3 separate regions of the Homo sapiens genome follow, and regions 2 and 3 are each linked to region 1. Evidence: promoter capture Hi-C in 16 types of primary human blood cells and fetal thymus (Javierre and others, 2016). All regions are on one chromosome and are shown on one strand. The core of a region is centred on a gene start or on the middle of the fragment in contact, and the rest is flanking DNA. Distances in the headings are between cores, read along the strand shown. Region 1 holds the start of TMF1 (TATA element modulatory factor 1). Region 2 overlaps MITF (melanocyte inducing transcription factor). Region 3 overlaps TAFA1 (TAFA chemokine like family member 1).

The links. Contacts are between HindIII fragments. The CHiCAGO score rates a contact against its expected background, and 5 or more counts as called.
Region 2: a contact is called between a fragment that was not itself captured here and the fragment with the promoter of TMF1 in region 1, in 1 of 17 cell types (M0 macrophages). The highest score is 5.2, in M0 macrophages.
Region 3: a fragment that was not itself captured here is called in contact with the fragment with the promoter of TMF1 in region 1 in 2 of 17 cell types (total CD4 T cells and naive CD8 T cells); the score reaches 6.0 in total CD4 T cells.

What each region holds. Positions count from the first base shown.
Region 1 is chr3:69,050,940-69,054,273 of GRCh38, reverse strand. TMF1 (TATA element modulatory factor 1) reads left to right here and starts at 1,941. Exons shown (of 17, transcript NM_007114.3): 1 at 1,941-2,329. The coding sequence starts at 2,188. RefSeq lists an enhancer at 1,880-2,349. The HindIII fragment of the contact is 2,649 bases long and covers 1,703-3,334 here.
Region 2 is chr3:69,826,015-69,829,391 of GRCh38, reverse strand. All of the region lies in intron 1 of MITF (melanocyte inducing transcription factor), which reads right to left. Among named protein-coding and RNA genes, the nearest start is that of MITF, 88 kb to the right of the region's middle. The HindIII fragment of the contact is 1,039 bases long and covers 1,530-2,568 here.
Region 3 is chr3:68,054,905-68,058,283 of GRCh38, reverse strand. The region is part of intron 2 of TAFA1 (TAFA chemokine like family member 1); the gene reads right to left. Among named protein-coding and RNA genes, the nearest start is that of TAFA1, 52 kb to the right of the region's middle. The HindIII fragment of the contact is 2,823 bases long and covers 1-2,661 here.

The DNA.
Region 1 (3,334 bases), core at 692-3,191:
AAAGTGCTGGGATTACAGGCATGAGCCACCATGCCTGACCATGTTTTTGTTTCTTTTAAGTGAATAAAACTTCAAACAAAATTAAGTACAAATACTAAAAAAGTAGGTGCTAGTATTTTAATATGAGAACATGTATGTGTTCTCATTCTTTGTTTTTGACTTAGATATGGCAGTTTTCTGTTCAAATGTTTTTTGGTTACTTATGTGTCACTGAGTTAAGTTTTCAGTAATCTTTCTAGCTACATATTGACAAATAAGTTTTATTATAAAACCATACGGAATAAATTTATAAGCTCTACCTGAAAAGTTACAGGTGTAGCTTACAATTTTGAAAGTGAAGGAACTAAAATTTAGCACCATATAGGTGCTATAATAATTCTCAAAGTAGCATTGTAAGAAGGTGACTCTATCTGAGAGCTGAATAAATAGTTTTAGATGGTTTAGGTAGGTCATTTCACCAAAGCTGTACAATTAGAAGTCTTGGAACTGTAACTGTACAGCTAATTTCAACCCGAATCTGCCCCAAATCTCCTCTGCAGACTACTTAGCTGTTTGAAAGTACTTGAGTTACTTGGTACTACTTGTGTACATGACTAAATTGTTAGTTTTAACATGCAAGTTTTTACTGTAGTTAGATAAAATTATTGGAAGATGATTATAACTTCTTAAGGGGTTCAATCTGATTTTTTAAAAGAAAAATAATTCTTTTTTGCAGAGTTCCTTGCAGTGGGGTAAAATATTCAAATATGGGAGGCAGGCATATAAGGTAAATAATCACAGCAGGGAGGGTGTAATAGGATGAGTGATAGGGGTCTGTGGCAAACTGGAGTGAGTGAAAATTATTTGGTGACCACTCTGGCTGACTATTCCCATGCTTGGTATTCATATTTTTCAAAAGCAGCTGGAAATCTAGATTTTTGAATGAAATCTGGCTTTTAGTTAGGATTTTGTCTTTAACTTGGGCCCAAACCAAATATAGCTGCAGACTGGATTAGGAAGGCCACCAATTTAAGGTATTTTCCCATGTCCAAATGTTCGAAGAGAATGCACACAGAAAAGGTTATGTTTTAAGTAATATGCACAGTGCACATTGTTAGGATAACAGCTTTAGTGCTTCCTAGGTGTCTTAGTCCATTTGGACTGCTGTAACAAATTGCCATAAACTGGGTGGCTTATAAGCAGTAGCAATTTGTTTCTTAACAGTTCTAGAGGCTGAGAAGTCCAAGATAAGGAGCCGGCAGATTTGGTGTCTGGTGAGGGCTGCTATTCTGGCTTAGAGTTGGTGCCTTCTTGCCGTGAGCTCCCTTGGGCCTCTCTTATAAGGGCACTAACCCCATTTATGAGGGCTCCATCATCATCTAATCATCTCCTAAAGGCTCCCCTTAATACTGTCCCATTGGAGATTAGGTTTCAACATAGGAATTTGTGCAGGGGACACCGACAGACCACAGTATTAGGGGTATTTTGACTGCAGCAATGAGTTTACTACTATTTTGAGAGAGAGGTTGTGCTTTATGCACCATGTGTTCCACGAGTTGGACACAGTGTTCATACGTGATCCTGTCTTTTAGGCAAGCCCAAACAAGTGTTTCTCCTTACAATACCAAGTTAATACAGAGCTTATTAAATATTTGAGACAAAGGGCTAAGAGAAGTGTGAGGCCCAATTTCCCTTTGCAATTATTGCTGGCAAGGTGCAAGCTTTTAGCACGTGAACTATTTTCCTGGAAAGCACACACACGAAAACTTGAATATTCCTTCCGGGGAAATCGACCTCTATCGGTAGCCATAGCTTCCCCTTCGCTAAGAACTGCTGTAAGCACGAAATCGACATCAATAGAAACCCTTCCGCGTTCCTCGGTAACTAACGGCAACCCTGCGCTCCCGGATGTGACGTCAACGTTCTTCTGTTCTTCCGTCTGTCGACCGAACTCTGGGCTCGTAGATTTGGTTGCTGTGTACGTGGAAGAAGCAAGCGCATGCGCACATGGGCCCCCTTCGTCTCAGCTGTGCGGGAACGGCCGAGGGTAACATCCCGGGCTCGCGGGAGGCTGTCGGGGTAATGGCCACACGCTGACAGAACCAGCCGAGTGGAAAAGGGGAGCGAAGCCGTTCCTCTGCACCCTTCCCCAGGCCTGAGGCCTTCCCGCTTGGTGCTGCCGCCGCCACTGCCGGCTGAGGAGGGGCGATGAGTTGGTTCAACGCCTCCCAGCTCTCCAGCTTCGCTAAGCAGGCCCTGTCCCAGGCCCAGAAGTCTATTGACAGGGTTCTGGACATCCAGGAAGAGGAGCCGAGCATCTGGGCCGAGACCATTCCGTATGGAGAGCCGGGTAAGAGAGAGAGGAGCGGGGTTCCTGGCTCCCGGAGGCTGCTGTTCTCTTGATGCAGGCAGGTTAAGTGGTGTAGAGAGGGGTCCTTCCTTGCTGAGAGAGTTTTCAGGAAGTAATTTCTCCCCGGCCCGTTCCCTAATGCTGCTTCAGCCTCCAAGTCGGTCTTTGCTGTTTTCCTGAGGGAAAACCCAGATCCAGGTTCCCCCTTGTCTTTCTTTGGTCCTGGGTGCGAGGCTTGTGGACTTGGATGACAGGGGACTTGGTTGGTTGGTCTTGCCCTCAAGCTCTCCCTCGACGCAGCTTCCAAGCACAACCTTCCCGAACCTGAACCTCGAATTGCTTCGCGTCTCGGGCACTGTTGGGATCCAAGGTCTGAAGTACGTAAATCATCAGGGAAGGGAAGAACAATCGCTAACAGTCAGTGAACATTTCGCGCTTGGTAGCGCGTAATGTGGTTTTATGTTGTTGTTGAGACGGAGTCTCACTCCGTCGCCCAGGCTGGAGTGCAGTGGCGCGATCTCGGCTCACTGCAACCTCCGCCTCCCAGGTTCTAGCGATTCTCCTTCCCCAGCCTCCCTAGTAGCTGGGATTACAGGCGCCCACCACCACGCCCGGCAACTTTTTGTATTTTTAGTAGGGACGGGGTTTCACTATGTTGGCCAGGCTGGTGGAACTCCTGACTTAAGGCGATCCACCCACCTCGGCCTCCTAAAGTGCTGGGATTACAGGCACGAGCCTGTAATGTGCTTTTTTATGGCCTTCTCATCTTCAGAACAACTCCCAGAGAGAGCTTGGTTTATATCCGTGTTTTACATAAGAGGAAAATGAGGCCCAGAATGGCCAAGTAACTTGCTCTAGGTCACACGGCGGAGGAGGATTAGAATGTGCCGGAGGTATTAGCCGGAAAATGTGTGACCCAAGATTTCTGGATGGTATCACATTTTATTTCTGAATAGCCAAGTCTCTCTTTGCAGTTTCATTGAGCTTAATCTTTCAGGGATCTTC
Region 2 (3,377 bases), core at 800-3,299, 780 kb before region 1:
GAATTTTAAAATCTCAATGCAATACAAGCCACAGTACTCCATGTCAAAATTCACGCCTATAGAATAACAGAAGTTATATCACTTTCTGTCATCATGATGCAGGTTCCTCATCAATGCTTCTAAACCGTCTGTGGCATTAGTTTGTTTGTCTTTTTAACTCCAAATCCATCACAGGCTGATACTTTTATAGACTATATAAAAGTGAATTCTTAGACAAATGAGATGAAAAACAAAACAAACACAAATATGCAAGCCCAAATTTGTATTATTAGGTCCAACAGACCTAAAGCTACTCTTTCCGATTGCTCTAAAATTTCAGAACACTCTATTTCTATTCTTAGCATATTGTAGGACAGCACCACACAGTTCATGAAGCAGTCCAGTCCATGGGTCACACTTTGAGTGGCATGAATCTTAGTAAAACACACACACACACACACACACACTCACACGATATTCCAGTATTCAATTCAGATGCCAATGTTTTTGTTCTCTAGCTGATAATGAAAAAAAATAAAGCTCTGCTTCCTATTAAATTTGTCAGACACTTATATAAACCATCAAGGAATAAAATTAGCAAGTTCATGATGCTCATGTCAGACTCCAGGAATATGTTCATACATGATTATGCCTTACTTCAAATCATCCCAAGATTAAAACACAGAAATGAGGGTCAGATTATCACTCATTTTATAACAGGTTGTACATTTAGTGGAATCATTATAATGAGACTCATTTTATATATCAAAATACCATGGTGATTTTATATTTATCTATTTATATAATATAATCTGTATATTTACCTTCTATATTTATATATACATATACACAGACTTATAGAAACATTTTATTGTGTAAACTAGTATGGTGAATTTTTTAAAAGCTATTAAAATGTCGTATACTTAGGTAACAAGTGGTTTCCTTTATTCTAGGTGAGTTAACATTATCTACTTGAGAATCATCCTATACAAGCTAAATAAAAAATTGATTAGATATCACCTATAAATAAAACTGACCTATTACTCTTCTAAGATGAAAACAAGTTGCCCTTTTTTATTATTACTAAAATAGCTCCAGATTAATGAAGGATGCTCACTAATCTTCTTAAATTATTCTTCATCTTAAAATACAACGTTTGAAACTATGTACACATAATCCTGAAATCTCTGGTCGGTCAAAGCTCCTTAAGTTGGGGTGAGTTAATAATTTTCCTCAAAGTTCATCCAAATGTGCATTCCAGAGAAAAGCATGCTTGAGGCTAAACATGGTGTCAATACTGACTGATTTACTTATTAGCTGGCACCCATGCCAGTAATCATACCTTGGGCCAACTGTATAGAAAGGTAAAGATATACTTGATCACATTTATGACAAGAATTGTATAGACGCAGAAGTCAACTCTTACTTTGAAGCTGCACAGAGCTTCCATCACATCACCTGGCAGAAGGAAGAACTATTTATTGAATTATGGAATGCAACTGTTGATTCCTCATTTATCATAGGCTGTGGAGGTCACTGCTGCCCAAGCTTACTTTTCTGAGAAACAGGAAGTCATCAGGGTGCCTGGGCCACTAATTTGGAGCCTTGGTCTTCTGTATATCTTGTGCATTGCCAGTTTGCTGATTTGACAGTAAAGTGATGTGAAGGTCAAAAAAAAAAGGGAAAATAAATTGGGAATTATATTCCAAAAGTCATGTCCACTGATTCAATGGAAGTGTTTAAAACATGTTTAAAACATGACTGAGCCAAGGGACTCTGTGCCAAGTCCCTTCCTACCGATTGCTCTCTCTGGGAGGTTTATATTTCCCTCCCCATTGATATCAGGCTTGACGTGTTGTAGGCAAACAAATGTGAGTACAAGTGACATATGCCACTTCCCAGCAGAAGTTCTAAGAGCCACTCTGTGGTTCCTCCGTTTCCTTTTTTCTCCTATTCAAGACAAATATGTCCCAAATGGATAGTGCTCATTAAGCCTTTGTTTCAGAAGGAATTGGACAAAGATCAGAGCTACTGTCAATCTGTGAGTTTTGTAAGTCATAAAATTTTGGAGTCCTTTGTTAATGCAGCAAAACTTAGCCTCTGCTGACTGATACAGTGGCTTTGTCTCACTGCACATCCACATCTTTAGGAGAAAAGCCTGCACCACAGTGTCTGTTGAAGACTTGAGGGTAAAGCTGAATTTTCTCAAGTCCTCACTAAAGAACTCAACTGGCAGTGGTGGTACTGGAGAAAGATGATCCTGTCCCCCTCAGATAGGATGGGTTACACTGGTGAGAGGCTGTCAAAGAGCAATGTTAGCATTCAGAGGATGGCATGAGAAGAGGAGGATGTAGGCTAATACAACAGCAAAAACTGAGAAGAAAACTCAGGAATGAATAATGTCTGCTCATTTATTCAGTTCCTGTCCCCAGTACCTAGAATACAACAGGCAGGTAATAATTGTGGCAGAGAGGAAGGGAAAGGAAAGATAAAGAATCAAACATTACTCCAAAGATAAAGCATGTGCAGGCCCTGAGAAAATGAAAAACACTGTGTACAAGCAACCAGATACAAATAGTAAAATAAGCTTGGCTGATACTTTGCTATAATGTATAAAACTTTAATTTAAAAAGTAATGGCAGCTTCCATTATTTGAGTACTTATGTGTCAAGCACTGTGCACAGTATCCATCATTTTATTCCATTATTTCCCAAACCCTGCACAACTGGTATTAGTAAGCCCATTGCCAATGAGGAGACAGGCTCATGAACATAAAGAACTAGACCAAGACTGAACAGTTAATGAGTTGTCTAACTCCAAGCTTGTGTCTTCAACCTCACATTTTGCTGTCTTCCAATGTCCAAAAGTTTTTAAAAGTAATTATAATGAATGTTCATAGCCTCACTGTAAATGCCCCAAATTAGAAAAGGCTCCAAATATCCATCAACAGTAGAATGGATAACTAAATCCTAGTAGGATTAGATAATGAAATACTATATGGAAATGAAAATGAATGAACTATATAACTACTTACAGCAATGAGGAAGAATCAATTTCCCAAACATAATCATGAACAAAAGATGCCAGGCCCAAGTAAGTACCTACTATATGACCATATGGCTTGTTCCATTTCTATAAAGGACAAGACAGGCAAAATTAATCTATGCAGTTGGTAGTTAAGATACTGGTTAACCTTGGGAGGGGTAGTGAATAAAAGGCACAGGAAGGAAGCATCTAGGGTGCAGGTAATGTTCAATTAGTTTACCTGAGGGCTGGTTAACGAGAGTCCAGTTTGTCAATAAATCATCATGGTGTACACTTATAATATGTACATTCTCCTCTCTATGTATTCCACTTCAATATATGTAGTGTAAAATTTTAAAAAGATGCACCTGCAC
Region 3 (3,379 bases), core at 1-2,500, 1.0 Mb after region 1:
CAATATAAGATACAAATCCTTATTTCCCCCATCTTACAGATGAGGAAACCAAGCCTTAAAGTTGTTGCATAACTTTCTCAAGGCCACATAGCGAGTAAGTGATAGAGCTGTGAACTTGATTTCACTAACTAGATTATTAGCATCTATACTATAGTTCCAGCAGAAGTAGAGACATCACTGCTTCCACTTCAGCTGCAAAGATGATTGTCATCCTTTACACCTGTGATTAGTTTCTTATTGCTGCAGTAGCAAACTACCATGAACTTAGTGGTTTAAAATACAAAAATGTATTACCTTGCAGTGAGATCAGAAGTCTGAAATGCATTTCAGGTGTCTTAAATTAAGGTGTCAGCAGGGCTGCACTCCTTCTGAAGGTTCTAGGGGAGAATCCATTGTTTGCCTTCTCTAGCTTCTAGAAGCCACCCACATCACTTGGTTCATGACCACTTCCTCTGTCTTCAAACCAACCATTGTGCCACTCCACCCACTGCTTCTGTCGTCACATTTCCTTCTCTGACTCTCACTGGAGGCTGTATCTTTCACTTACAAGAATTCTTGTAATTACATTGAATCCACTCAGGTAGTCCAGGATAATCTTCCCATACCAAGATCCTTAATTTAAAAACACCTGCAAAGTCCCTTTTGCTGTGTAAGGTAACCCATTCACAGGTTCTGTGGATTGGGATACGCACATCTTTAGGGAGAGCCCTTATTTTGCATATCACACACTGCAATGACCAAGTTATAAAATTACAATTAAAAATTGTTTCTAATGTATAAAAAGGGAAAGGAAGCAGATTGCTTCCACCTTAGCACATTTCCTGAGATGAAGTTCCATATTTAAATGAAGCATTGGAATTGATATTGTCTCATTAATGCAGTAAAATGATTAATGTGATGTGCAATAGAGGGATGAAGAAAATACACAGGATCACCTCTTTTCAACACTGATGAGAACGAGCTGGCCTTGGGTGAATACAGGAGTTCTGTTTCAAGTGATGAGATTCGGCCCCATAACATAGATAACTGAAATATCTCTAACTATGGACCATTAGACAGCATTTGAATTATCACACTGCCAAATCTACAAACTATGAGTTTCTATTCCTAGCTCCCAATTCAAGAGGGTGAAATATACATTGATTCAGGTTCAGGAGAGGATGCTCTGCCCTCACTGGGGAAATCAAATTGCTGGCCAAGGGCAGAGGAACCTAAAACGTGTGTTAGAGAAGAGAGATGATGGGCAGAATTGTAGCTTTTCCCATAAAAACTCCTGTAATAAGTCGTGACCAGTCAGCCACTCCCTTACTATGATGATGTCAACTTAACAGGGGTCACAAATGGATCTGGGTATTGCAAGGGGTGAGCAGTAACAAATGCTAATTTTCCCTACTCGTCTCATCCAGACCCCTCAGAGTCTCCCACCAAATTCCTGCTGCCAATGTCTGCATACTTAAGCCAGAATTTGCTTTTTTTCTTGGAACTACAATCAAACCATACTATTCGTGGCCAGCAGGCTGAAAGTGCCTGGAATTTAAAACCCTCTAGGAGTAGCCCTTTGCCAATGACTCTCAGAAATTGGCATGTAAATCTCCCACACCCTTGCTTCTCTACTGGGAAATTTCTGAAGCATGTGTTTTGCCCTATTTCCTGGAGTTTCCCATGGGATTAAGCTCTGGTTGCTCACTGGGATATCTGGCTTAATAATGTTTCTTTTATTGATTGGCTGTCTTATCTTCACTGTATCATATTAAAGCGTTTTGCATCTCCAAAATAAACCTGGATCTACCTCAGGATCTAATTCTGGAGTAATTACACAGTTGAAACTTGGGTGACCACCCATCTGGTTTGGTAAGGACAGAGGGTGTTCCTGGGACATGGGACTTGCAATTTTAAAACCAAGACAGTCCCAGGAAAAGCATTTCAAATTTGCCTAGAACTTGTAGCTTTTCAGGATGTGGGACTTTCAGTACTAAAACCTGAGAACTCAGGTTGGAACTCAAAGTGGTCCTAGGAAACAGATCTCTAGAATTGGTCTTTGCAGCTAGAAACTAGCAAAATGGCAACAAAATTACCATTGCTAGTCACGAGTGGAATGGTGTGCTATGAAATCATAACTGCTGAGACTCTTACCTAAGATTGAATTGGGATGGGGCACAGCTGGAAGAGGATGCACTAGCTTATGCAATTTCTCTAGCACTTGAGAGATAGGGTGGCATTGGCCATTGGAAAGATTATGGAATTGGATAGTTGGACCAAGTACCATCAATGAGCTGAAAGAAGAAAATGACAGGCTCAAGTGAGCTGAACACCAACCCAGGGTTCAGTATGGAAAGCCAGAGGCCTCTCCGGCATCATTTAAAGAGACTCTCATCTTCTGCAGGCAGAGAAAAGATCAGGCTGAAAATCGGGGCTAGGACCTGATGTGAGAGAACTGTCTAGAGTGTTGAAGCAACAGCCCCAGCCAACATTCTAAGGCAGAGCATAGATAAAGAAGATGGAAAACCCTGAGATATGTCCAGGGAAAGGGACATCTGTGTAAATGCACTCCAGACTCTTGAACTCTCAGATTCTCCTTAACCCTCTGAGACTTCAGAAGTTATCTACATCTTATTCTTAGAATATAGCATCCTTTCCTTGCTGGGAGACCAAGCAGAAGCTTCACCTAGGAGGCAGCCTTGGGAGATGATACTTGCCTTCCTCAAGATCTGTCCCCACGTTCTAATATGGCTTGAGTAAGGAAGCACTTACTCTGCTTCAAGAAGTAAAGAATTATTTAATAACTGTGTTTCAAGTTCTGGTTAATAGGTAGCTACCGAAACTAGGAAAACAGGTGTGGCAGTGAACTTTGAGAGTTCTGTACCCTTGGGGTAGGGGAAGGGAGCAAAATATAGTGCTGGGTAATGGAGTTTATTGATATGGAGGCATTCACCATACAAGGCAAACAAAGAATCAAACCATCCCACCTCTTGCCCCCCGCATACATACACACACATGAGTATCTACCGATGACACTTAAGAGTTGGATTATAAATTCCTCTGCTCCTCAGCCCTTAGGTGAGGTGTTTCTGAGTTGTGTGCTTTACAGATTTCCCAGAGTTTCTTCAGGGGATTAAGTTTCTATCACGCACTATGGCAGGTGGCTTGGTAATTAACTCTTTTTTGACTGCCTTCCCTTTCCTTTCATACTTCCCCACTCCTGTTCATGTTTTCTTACCATCCAAATAAGATGCCTCCACCAAAACAACTGCCTGAAGGTCTGCTTGTGGGAGACCCTAAACCAAGGCATAGAGGTACATATCTCATTATAAAAACTTCAGAGCATAGTCTACCCCAAATAAATAAAAGACAAACATACGTAGTACTAGATTAAGAAATT